Linked DNA regions of Homo sapiens: regions 2 and 3 are each linked to region 1. The links are contacts of gene promoters, found by promoter capture Hi-C in human tissues and cell types (Jung and others, 2019). All regions are on one chromosome and are shown on one strand. The core of a region is centred on a gene start or on the middle of the fragment in contact, and the rest is flanking DNA. Distances in the headings are between cores, read along the strand shown. Region 1 holds the start of LRRTM1 (leucine rich repeat transmembrane neuronal 1). Region 2 overlaps CTNNA2 (catenin alpha 2). Region 3 overlaps CTNNA2 (catenin alpha 2).

The links. Contacts are between HindIII fragments. The study calls those that stand out against the background at their distance.
Region 2: a contact is called between a fragment that was not itself captured here and the fragment with the promoter of LRRTM1 in region 1, in 3 of the 25 tissues and cell types used here (H1 embryonic stem cells, heart right ventricle and pancreas).
Region 3: a contact is called between a fragment that was not itself captured here and the fragment with the promoter of LRRTM1 in region 1, in 4 of the 25 tissues and cell types used here (H1 embryonic stem cells, IMR-90 fibroblasts, heart right ventricle and 1 more).

What each region holds. Positions count from the first base shown.
Region 1 is chr2:80,302,390-80,306,691 of GRCh38, forward strand. LRRTM1 (leucine rich repeat transmembrane neuronal 1) reads right to left here and starts at 2,363. Exons shown (of 2, transcript NM_178839.5): 1 at 1,763-2,363; 2 at 1-1,489. The coding sequence starts at 1,430. The region is part of intron 7 of CTNNA2 (catenin alpha 2); the gene reads left to right. RefSeq lists an enhancer at 1,180-1,805. The HindIII fragment of the contact is 15,461 bases long and covers 1-4,302 here.
Region 2 is chr2:80,535,676-80,539,831 of GRCh38, forward strand. The region is part of intron 9 of CTNNA2 (catenin alpha 2); the gene reads left to right. Among named protein-coding and RNA genes, the nearest start is that of LRRTM1, 230 kb to the left of the region's middle. The HindIII fragment of the contact is 4,505 bases long and covers 1-4,075 here.
Region 3 is chr2:80,557,286-80,561,091 of GRCh38, forward strand. The region is part of intron 12 of CTNNA2 (catenin alpha 2); the gene reads left to right. Among named protein-coding and RNA genes, the nearest start is that of LRRTM1, 250 kb to the left of the region's middle. The HindIII fragment of the contact is 9,339 bases long and covers 1-3,806 here.

The DNA of each region.
Region 1 (4,302 bases), core at 1,113-3,612:
ATGGTCTGTTTCTGCTTTTGCTTCCTGCGCTGCGTGACAAAGCACTGTCTGAGCTGCCTGAGGCTGGCTGGGAAACACTTCCAGGACACGTAGAGCACCAGGACCACGATGAGGAAGGAGAAGATGAGGGCCATGGTGCCCGTGACCACCTTGTGGATCTGCACGGCGTTCTCGGCGTGCTCGCCGCCTGGAAGAGCCACGGTGGCAGGCTCGAATGTGCCGTCGTGCTGCCCCTCCCCGCCGTCCGCGAGCGTGGTGGCCGAGCTGGCAGGGGGCCCCAGATCACTGCGGTTGGTGACGGCCGAGAGCAGGTGGCCGCTGGTGGGCTCGGCCCCATCCTCGCACAGGTGGAAGGCGTACACGGCGTCCAGGACGTCCTCGCCCTGTGCGTACTCCGGGCTGGCGCACTGCAAGTTGCCATCGTAGCGCCCCTGGAAGTTGTTGAGCCACGAGGCTAGGGCACACACGTTGCGCCCGCAATCCCACAGGTTCCCGGCCAGGGTGATGCTTGTCAGGGACTTCCAAGAGTTGAGGATCCGGGGCTCGATGTAGGTGAGGCGGTTGGAGTCCAGCTGCAGGGACTGCAGGTGCGGCACGGTCTCGAACACATGGGGCTCCATGTACTCGATCTCGTTGCCCGACAAGTCCATTTTCTCCAGGTTCCAAACCCAGTCCAGCGAGCTGACCACAATGGCCACCTTGTTCCTCCGCAGGCAGAGCGAGTGCAGGGAGATGAGGCGCGGGAAGTGGGCGAAGTTCACCTTGACCAAGTCGTTGTGCTCGAGGTGCAGCTCGGTGAGCTTAAACAAGCCGGCGAAAGAGTTGCGCGCCAGACTCTTGAGCTGATTGTATCCGATGTCGAGAAACTTGAGGCTGCGGCAGTCCTGGAAGATGCGCACGGGCACAAACTGGATGGCGTTGGCCCGCATATGCAGCGTGGTGAGCTTCCGCAGCCCGTGGAAGAGGTCGGGCGCGAGCGCCTGCAGCTTGTTGTACGAGAGGTCCACGCTGCGCAGGTTGGGCATGGGCCGGAAGGTGGTGTTGGGCAGTTGGGTGATCTGGTTGGAACTCAGCGTGAGTTCCTTAACTCGGCGCAGTTTCTGAAAGGCGTCCCCCTGCACGGAGCAGATGTGATTGTGATCCAGATAGAGCCACGTGAGCTGCATTAACCCCGTGAACTGGCCGGCGCGCAGCTCCGAGAGGCTGTTGTAGCGCAGGGACAAGCCCAGCAGGCCGGACAGGTTGTGGGGCGCCTCGGTGAGGTTGAGCGCCTCGCAGTACAGCAGCCGCCCCTCGCACCGGCACAGCTGCGGGCACCCGCTGGGGGCGGCGGGCAGCATCTGAAAGCAGGCCCCCAGCAGACACAAGACCACCCCCGAGGGCCTCCTCAGCAGCCAGTATAGACAGAGACCGAGCAGCAGGAAATCCATTAGCGAGAATCTTTCCAGAGAGACTGGAGAATGTCCATTGGAAGCGCTCGGTCAGAAATCTACATCATATTTTATTCCGAGGGAGGGGAAGCGGGGGAGGGGGAGAAAAGGGCAAAAAATCAAATAAATACATAGAAATAAAGAAGGACCCCCCTCCCCAAAAACCACACGTTCACCTCTAAGCATGCAGAAAGCTGGGCAGCATAGAAAGTTCACAGCCACGGAAAGATCAAAGAGATGGTGATTTGGTCCATGTTAGATGCTGCAGCAAAGAAAAGGGAGGAAAAAAAAAATCTTCGGGAAAGAATTTAATTAAAAAGTGTCTTACCCACCCTTTTCCAGAGAGTGACAACCTCCATTCAGCTGCTCCCTTTGTGTGCAGGCTAATTATATGCAGGGCGAGAGAAGACCCCTCTGTGTTTCCGAGGCAGCCCCGGTCCGCGGCCGGCGGATCTGGCAGGCGCACAATGTCTCACTTTGCTGCTCGGCTCGGGGCTGCAAGGGCGGCCGGCAAGGCGGGGAGGCGACTTCTAGGACCCGCAAGTTTCCCAACTACGTGCCGGAGCCCGAGCTTCGCCTTCCTGCCGCCTTCCTTTCCCTCTGCAGTTCGGACTGTGACGTTGTGGGGGGAAAAAACTCCAAACTCGGGGCTCGCGACTCCCCAGGATCTGACAGTCTGGTTAATGTCCGTCATTGGAAACGACCACTGACCGGCGCCACCTTTTACTCCGCGGAAACAGCCTGCCATTCGCGCCCCGGGCAGCTGCAGAGAGCGGGCTCACTCATGCTTTGCGGGCGGCGGGCGGCGGGCGGCGGGCGGTGGGGAGGTGCGGACGGCGGCGCGGGGAGCGGCGAGCGGCGCCCGGGCTCCTTCCCTCCACCAGGCAGTGTGCGGCGCGAGCTTGCACAGGCACCTACTGCTCACTGAGTGTCGTAAGCTGCTCACGATTGTGCGTCTTCCCCGAGCACCTCAGACATGGGCAGATTGAAAAGGGGTGGGCATAAAACCAACATTTTACCGAACCACTAAAGTAATATATGTTTTTTGATGAAACGGAAAACACTTTCAGCTTTTTTGTCCATATTTCAAAAAAAAAAAAAAAAAAAAAAAGGAGGGGGGAGGGAGGTGGAGGTAGGGGTAGCATCATCCACGACAAGATATTTCCAAGTGGGAAACTGAAATGTTCTGTGCTCTCCCCCTTGCCTTTTGGGGATATATTCTTTTCCCCTTTAAAACTGTCTACGTGTAAGAGATACGTAGGAATCTGTAGAGAAATCAACGTTTGGACCTTTGCTTTAGAAAAGCAACTTGAGAGAAGACACAGGAAGGCAATGATTTGGGGCTTGGCTAAGATTTTTGGGGTTTTTTCCCCCTCTTGCGGGTACTGGAATTCTGCAGTCAGCCAGCCCTTTTTTGAGGTGGAGAGGGGAAATGCTTTCCAAACCCACCTAGTTTGGGAAGCCATCCAAGTCCCGGTGGTGTGAGATCCAGTGTGGCAAAAAGGTATGTCTGTGTGCAGGGAGACTTGACTGAGATCCCTCCGGGGCTTCATCAGGCTCCACAGATACATATGGGGTACAGAGTGGATTAAAGAACGATTGTACTGTCTGACATGGGGAGGGCTTACCCTGACTTGTGCTGTTCATGGTGATTACTGGGCCCTGCAGTGCACCCCACTCCAAGAGAGTGTGAATGTGTAGGGACGTGATAGTTTAAGCCATAATGAAGCCTACCCGTCTCCATACACACATCCTAATTAATCTTTGAGACTGCACTAAGTTGTGCCACTTTTTCCTCTGAGTATGACGAGAAGCCTTTGCCTCATTATTTCTATTCATAATCATTTATAGATAGGAGTCCTTACAATGAGCTCTCCCCCCACCTCCCCACACACACACCTTGTGCCTACTGGTCTGTAGAGGGTCTGCCCTGGGGAGGGTCAGTTGGTCATCTGTTTAAACAAAGTCCTCCAAGATGGCTGAGAAAGCCTGCGGGAAGTGAGTGTGGGCAAGCCTTCCTTCTTGACAAAGATGCCCAGGGAGATGGTAGGGAGAGTCAAATGTGAGTCTCCAGCTCCACTGTTTGAATTCCCATCGTTTCTGCCTCTAAGGAAGTCAAAATCAGTAGGCATTATATGTAGTGGCACTTACTTTGATAGGAATGAGGGTGGATTACCAGAGCCAGGGTAGATAGACTGGACAAGTAACTGGATTGGTCCTTAGCATCTAAGCTGAAGAGGCCAACCAATGGAATCAAAGTCACCAAAGACTGGTGGTACTTTTCAGGAAAAGTCATATGAACAGGGGCATGAATCATTCCATTTTGTATTCATCTGAGCTCTGCCCTGGTCATTCATCTCTGAGATGTATCATTTAATTGGAAGGAACACAAATCTGAAATGTCCTAGACATCACATGCTGTCTTAGGAGTTAGAAGAGACATTAGAAAATCAACCCCCTTAATTTTGCACGTGACTAAACTGAGGCCAAGAGACATCATGGTTTATCCAAGGTCATACAGCTTGCAACTGGCACAGATGGTTTTTTCTTTCTTTCTTTCTTTTCTTTTCTTTTCTTTTCTTTTCTTTCTTTCTTTCTTTCTTTCTTTCTTTCTTTCTTTCTTTCTTTCTTTCTCTCTCTCTCTTTCTTTCTTTCTTAATTTGCCATTCTTGATGATTGCCTCTCTGTCACTCTTGCTGCCTACCTAACTCTGGATCAGGCATTTGCATGTTTCATCCTGGCACCTCCAAGGTGCTGCGGAACACTTTAACAGACAGACAAACAAATTCACCATCAAGTGGTTTCACCTCTTGCCAAGACAATTATTCGTGACAGCAGGCCAGCTGATGGAGCCATAAACTCTAAAGGGTTG
Region 2 (4,156 bases), core at 573-3,072, 230 kb after region 1:
AAAAGTGATTCCACTTCCTCCTGTCCCCCAGTGTACTTAAGCCCCCAGCTGCTGACATCCACTGAGCATCCTTCCCTGATCAAATTATCCCTGCTGTTTAAGTTTCCTCTATCCTGTAGAACTGCAGTGACTGTTAATCAGGCTGATAAACTTATGCCAGTGTGTAGCTGCTCATTTTAAAATGATTCCATAATACCTCAGCAGGAAAGCGAGACAACTCCTACAATATTCTTCTGGGCAGCCAGACTTGACTCTCCTCAAGTCCAATTTTGATGGTGGCCATTTAGCCTATTCCTATGCCCATCTTCCTGGAAGCTGATCATCGAAGGCTGAGCCTGTTTTTCTACCAGCTGCTTCTGTCTTGCCTCTCAAAGGTTTCAGGGAGGTTTATCATTTCCACTGTTATTGAATTGTGAAACTCCATCTGTATTATAGGAGTCATGTTCTGTAGGAACCTTGTGGTTCTCTAGAAGATAGGCATATATGTTAACATCTTCGTGTGTACTAATTACATCAGCACAGATAAATGAATAAACCTTCAGATGGAGACCGCAGCACTTTTCATTGTGATGATAGTTTTAGAGAAAAATGTTTTGCGTGAAATCTGTGCCACCATCCTCTCTGTGGTTTTATATGGCCACATGACTGACTATAAATTCAAGTAATTCCCCTTGAATTTATTTAAATAAATTCATTTTATTCTCAAATTTACAGTGATGATGAAATATTAACATGAGGAGCAAGTGCTTTATGGACCTTCGAATTGCTATTCTGCTTTATTTCAATAGTGTGTTCTTAAAACACCAATATGATACCTGAAGCTGTAAAAATTAATGAAATGATTCAGTGTTTGGGAGTTGAATGCAGTGAATATTTGCTGGTGTTTCAAACAGAACAGAATCACAAATATTAAAAAATGTAATTTGATTTCCGAGGCCAGAAAAAGGGAAAATGTTCTCATTTTTCTGATGTACTTCATATCACGTTGGAGTTAAATGCCTAAATACTTTATTAGCAGAGGTTTTTAATGTCTAATTGAAGCTCAGCCTTCCAGGCATTTTGGCTTTTCTTGTGAGTGTTCAAACAAGACTGTGGCTCTTTTGAGACAGAGCTGCTTTTCTGTGGCGGTGTCCACACAAAACTGAATTGTACAGCCACGATGTAGTTTATCAAGATCTGTGAGCTGTGTGGGGTTTTCTTTGTGTGATTAAAAAACATCTTGCCTTTTTAAATGGTCACTATACATTTTACTTTAACTTCTGGGATACGTGTGCAGAATGTGCAGGCTTGTTACATAGGTATACATGTGCCATGGTGGTTTGCTGCACCCATCAACCCATCATCTAGGTTTTAAGCCCCACATGCATTAGGTATTTGTCCTAATGCTTTCCCTCCCCTTGCATCCCACCCCCTGACAGGCCCCAGTGTGTGTTGTTCCCCCTCCCTGTGTCCATGTGTTGTCATTGTTCAACTCCCACTTATGAGTGAGAACATGCAGTGTTTGGTTTTCTGTTCCTGTGTTAGTTTGCTGAGAATGATGGCTTTCAGCTTCATCCATGTCCCTGAAAAGAACATGAACCCATTCTTTTTTATGGCTGCATAGTATTCTGTGGTGTATATGTGCCATATTTTCCTTATCAAGTCTATAATTGATGGACATTTGGTTGGTACTATGCCTTTGCTATTGTAAATAGTGCTGCATTAAACATATGTGTGCATGTGTCTTTATAGTAGAATGATTTATAATCCTTTGGGTATATACCCAGTAATGGAATTGCTGAGTCAAATGATATTTCTGGTTCTAGATCCTTGAGGAATAGCCACACTGTCTTCCACAATGGTTGAACTAATTACACTCCCACCAACAGTGTAAAAGCGTTCCTTTTCTCCACAGCCTCGCAAGCATCTGTTGTTTCCTGACTTTTTTTTTTTTTTGAAACGGGGTTTTACTTTTGTTGCCCAGGCTGGAGTGCAATGGCATGATCTCAGCTCACTGCAACCTCTGCCTGCTGGTTTCAAGCAACTCTCCTGCCTCAGCCTCCTGAGTAGCTGGGATTACAGGCATGTGCCACCACACCTGGCTAATTTAGTATTTTTAGTAGAGGTGGGGTTTCTCCATGTTGGTCAGGCTGTTCTCGAACTCCCGACCTCAGATAATCCACTCAACTCGGCCTCCCAAAGTGCTGGGATTACAAGCATGAGCCACCACACCCGCCCTGTTTCCTGACTTTTTAATGATCGCCATTCTAACTGGCATAAGATGATATCTCACTGTGGTTTTAATTTGCATTTCTCTAATGACCAGTGATGATGAGCTTTTTTTCATATGTTTGTTGGCCGCATAAATGTCATCTTTTGAGAAGTCTCTGTTCATATCCCTTGCCCACTTTTTGATAGGGTTGTTTTTTTCTTGTAAATTTAAGTTCCTTGTAGATTCTGGAAATTAGATCTTTGTCAGATGGGTAGATTGCAAAAATTTTCTCTCATTCTTTAGGTTGCCTGTTCACTCTGATGCTAGTTTATTTTGTTGTGCAGAAGCTCTTTAGTTTGATTAGATCCAATTTGTCAATTTTGGCTTTTGTTACTATTGCTTTTGCTGTTTTTTAGTCGTGAAGCCTTTGCCCATGCCTATGTCCTGAATGGTATTGCCTAGGTTTTCTTCTAGGGTTTTTATGGTTTTGGGTTTTACATTTAAGTCTTTAATCCATCTTGAGTTAATTTTTGTATAAGGTGTAAGGAAGGGGTCCAGTTTCTGTTTTCTGCATATGACTAGCCAATTTTCCCAGCACCATTTATTAAATGGGGAATCCTTTCCCCATTGCATGTTTTTGTCAGGTTTGTCAAAGATCAGATGGTTATAGGCATGTGGTGTTATTTCTGAGGTCTCTGTTCTGTTCCATTGGTCTATATGTGTGTTTTGGTACCAGCACCATGCTGTTTTGGTTACTGTAACCTTGTAGTACAGTTTGAAGTCAGGTAGCCTGATGCCTCCAGCTTTGTTCTTTTTGCTTAGGATTGTCTTGGCTATACAGGCTCTTTTTTGTTTCCACATGAAATTTAAAGTAGTTTTTTCTAATTCTGCAAAGAAAGTGAATGGTAGCTTAATGGGAATAGCATTGAATCTATAAGTTACTTTGGGCAGTATGGCAATTTTCACGATACTGATTCTTCCTGTCCACGAGCATGGACTGTTTTTCCATTTGTTTGTGTTCTCTCTTATTTCCTTGAGCAGTGGTTTGTAGTTCTCCTTGAAGAAGTCCTTCACATCCCTTGAAAATTGTATTCCTAGGTATTATTTTATTATCTTTGTAGCGATTGGGTCACAATGTATTTTTATGAGGGATGCATATGTTTGTTTTTTGAGATGCAGTTTCACTCTGTTGCCCAGACCAGAGTGGAGTGGAGCGATCTCGGCTCACTGTAACCTCCACCTCCTCAGTTCAAGCAATTCTTGTACCTCAGCCTCCTGAGTTATTTTTGTCAATTTTTAACTGTCTTATCAGGAATATTGTCACTCTGCTTTTGGCTTCCTGAGGTGATTATTAAAGAGTTACAGGATAGATGCCAATTGTAATACAAATTCAATTAATGGAGTTAAGTTACTTTCTTCAAAAAATAGGCATAGGCTCTCCTTGCTTTTTTTTTTTTGTTGTTGTTGTTGTTGTTCTTTCTAGTTCTGCTAATGATATTGTTAATGTTAAGTATTCATGTACTTACAAAGTGTGCCCAGAAGAGCCAAAAAAAAAAAAAAAGTTATATTCATTGAGCATCTAGAAAGTAGTGCTAAACAGGCAATCGTAAAATAAATCTTGCAGGATGGATAGTTTACCTCTCCATGATATGTTTACTGATTCCACTTAGCAGCACTGGTCTCTTCTTTTTCTGTAATCCTAAAGTTTTTGGGGTCAGCAGCACACAATTTAATGATGGCTGCTAAGCTTCCTCCTTTCCCTCAAGATAACTGGTTTTAAGGTACTAAGTCAGAGAAAGACTGGCCTAGTCTTCTCAGCTTTTACTTCCCCAGATCCATTATGCTCTCAGAAGTTAAGAAGGAGAGCTTTCCTTTCTAACAGATTGGTAGGTATTTAGTACAATTAGATCACCAACGAGCTCTACCACCTATAGTCATGACCTATTCCACTTTCAGAAATCCCAG
Region 3 (3,806 bases), core at 165-2,664, 250 kb after region 1:
ATTGAGCAACACAAAGCAAGCCATACAGTATTTCTTTCCTCACTTGGAAGAGTTATAAAAAGGTATTTTTTTCCCTAATTCTCCAAATTAAGGACTTTTTCATTAGTAACCTTTAGGGAGACCATCTCACATTTCTGTGGCTTACAGTTCCCAGCCCATCAGCTCTATTCTTGTACAAAGTCTCAGCTTCATGTGAGATATCTGACAGAGTAACACTCACCTGGGTCTGTCACTAGATAAATAATACCAGAGAAGTGTTGAAGACCTAGAGACAGGACTCAGTTCCTGCCCACTCATGACTGGTGGGAAGGACACTTGTGGCAGATGAAAGATACAGAGCATATTGCCAATTTTCATGTGACTTTCTACCCACAGATAACTCAGGCACTGTTCAAATGACATTTTAGAACTTTTTCTTATTGTATCTTGGACTGCTTTGACAACAGGAGTGCCACTTACTAGGTCAAAATCTAAAGGCAAGGACAATTGCTTAGTTGATTGTAATATTTTAACATAATTTTCACCCAAAGTCTTGATATGTAAATAATGTTCTGGTTGATTTTTCTACTTTTAAAAAAACAAATAGTCGTTCATCCTGGATTGTTGTTGCTAATCAAGATTTTTGCTCTTACTTGTTCTGAGTTTTTACAATTTTTATCCTGGCTTGCAATGATTGAGCACTCTGGGGGCTTAACTAAAGGCACCTTTCTTATTTTGATGCCCATATCCAATTCCTAATTGAATACGGTAGATGAGCAGGACATTTAAATTCTACTTTTCAGGATTTATTGAAGTTAACTAGGAAAGTAACCAGGCAGAGACTGAAATAGACAGCTTATATATAACTTTAATTGAAAATATAGGAATAAGTGTCAAGGAAAAGTGGGTGTCAGTGGACTAAGAGCTAGAATACAAAGGTATACAATTTCTTTGGTATTTGTCCCCAATTGTTCTTCTCTTTCTGAAACAGGAATAATGTTACTATTTTGTGAATAACTAGAGAGGTTGCCAAAGAAATGAAAGAAAAAAACTTCAGCTATTAACTCACTGACTGCTAATGAGAATTGCTGGGGAATGTGCTTGCATAAAGTAGACACGTGGAGTTTGAGGATGACCACAGGATCAGTTCTGTAATTATGGTTGTACAAAGTTTTGTTGGTGTGTGTGTGTGTGTATATATGTGTGTGTGTGTGTGTGTGTGTATATATATATGTTGTCTAAAGTGATTTACTTCTAATGTCATTGTATGTCTGTGCTAAGGAGACATAAGATATATGTCCTCAAAATAGAAACCCTGTGCATGTCCCTGATGCCAAATTATCTACCTTTTGCTTAGTTTTGTTTCTGACTTAAACAATTTTAGAGCCATGTTGAATTGGCCACTTTTCTATGTGAATCTATCAAATTTTGTCATGAGAGTACATTGTAGGGTGAGAGAGGGTGGTAGTGGGAAAAAAGGGAAAAATGCCAAGAGGAAAGATGAGGAGAAAGAAGACAAAATGTCATGGTTTTTGTTGTTGTTGTTGTTGCCACACCTACTAGGTTCTGCCCATTGATTTTTTTGTTTGATATTTTATTTTTAAAAAATTCTGTGCCATTAGATTCAAGACCTTGAGTCAGACATGCTCAACCTCTGTACTGTTGACACTTTGGTCTGAACAGTTGTTTCTTGGGGAGAGTTCTGGGGACTGTTTTGTCCATTATGGGATGCTTAGAAGCATCCCTGGACTCCACCTGCTAAATGTTTGTAGCATCTCTTTCTTCTACATGCCAAGTTGTAACCACCAAGATGTCTCTAGACATTGCCAGATATCCTTGAAGGAAGTGGGTCCTGGTGGGCAAAATAATGTGCACTGAGCATTACTGCCCTAAAGTAAAGAAATAACCCAAAATAGGGACAAGTTCAAACAGGACAGATTGGAGCCCATGTACTGTGGACATAGTGAAAAGGGAGTGGGGTTGGGAGTATATTACAAAGAAGAATCTGTAAAAGGGCAGAATAATCAAACAGCCTTGACTGAACTGGATGTTGCTGCTGAAGGTGTTTACACACAGGCAAACCCCTGTGTAGACAGATGAATGGCTGCATGGGTAGGTCACTGTAGGGAGACTCCCACTTTACCACTTGGCTGCCCTCGCTGAGTGGCTGGAAAATTGAGAGGTGCCCAAAGAGTGATAACACATCTGTGGTTTATTTTCCATGAATTATTTTCTTTCCTTAGTAAAGACAGTGCTTTGCTTAAGAGTGCTTCTTGTCTTGATATGAATGCTGAATTAAATTTAAGAAAATTTTGTAGATTATTAGTATGCTAAGAATTATAGGGTAGCATTATGTACAAATTTACCTGTTCATTTTCTATAAAACAATCTAGGCTGATGAAAACACAATAAATTGGATCTACAGCAGACCCATTAAATACTTACATGGCATATTTGATGGGCTCTTCAATAAAACCTGAATTATAACAAATTGCCAAACAGCTTAGTAGTAAGTACACGCTTGACCAGACCCATCTTCATAGATCTCGTTTACAAAGTTGGGTTGCTGCAGGAGGCTGAGGAGGGGTGAAAGCACATTCAGCGATATCATATTTATATATATATATACACACACATACAGTAGCTCATTCTTCACTGAATGGATTATATTGAAATGTCATTTTTGTAAATTTGATAGCTGACTCAAGTTTGTGGCCATGTGAGCGTGACTAGGTTAAAAGATCTGTGAGATTCTGCCAGATATTTTTTCTTCAGAGGAAACAATAGACCAAAAAAAAAAAAAAAAAAGAAAAAAGCATATTTTAAAAAGGGTTCTATGTTATGGAGCACTCTGTATGCAGAGATTAAAATTCCATTATTTTGGAAAATACGTGGGCCAAGCAGATGGTATAATTTTTACTTCCATGCTCTATAACCTAAAGTTTTATACGAATGGGAAGGTTTTTCGTTTTACAACATTTCTATATATTTTTGCTTAGAAAGTATAAAAGGACCAACAAATACAAAGCATCCAAACTGGAAATCTTATTGAGAGGGTACATTTGGGCCAGGACAATGCAGTAGAATGAATCCAAGGTTAGGATTCAGAAGAACTGTTATTTGACTGCTACCAACTAACTGTGACCTTAAACAAATCAGTTAGTGCCTCTGGGACTTGGGTTTTTTCCTGTATTGCCCAATGTTTTGTCATTCAAGAATGGGTCGGTATTAATTGCGTAATATATGCATCACTGTTTCTGGCTTCCTGGTGACTGCACTTGGCATAAGCAATTATTGCCCATGAGTCCCCTGTATAAACCCTCTGCACCATCTGGACGAGGGCCTTCATTATTCTCCAGGCAAAACATATCCATGCTGCTCCCTCTGTCCTCCCTGCAACGTTCTTCATCTCCTCCTCCTCCTGCTTTACATCTGTTTATTGAGATTCACCTTTAAAATATAGCTCTAGTCTCAGTTGGAGACCACAGAAAACTATTAGTCTTTTGACATTTAGTATGGTATGTCCTCTTCAGTGTAAATGACTGCTTACAACAGGATTGTCTGTTTTTAGAGGCAAGTGTTTCTATAGGTACCCACAGCCTAGAATGGTGTTTTCAGTAACACATTTAATACGTAAGTATTGATTAAATGAATACCAAAAATGAGAACTTTACACTTTGTCTTTTTTTTCTGTAGAAAATATGTCTACCAGCAGCCTCAGGTTTGCAGCTCAAGACCAATTTCTGTGTATCAATGGGAAATCATCTGATTGGCTTTCTGGCCTATGCTTCCTTCAGTTGGACTGATTTCTGTTGCTAGTGGAATAG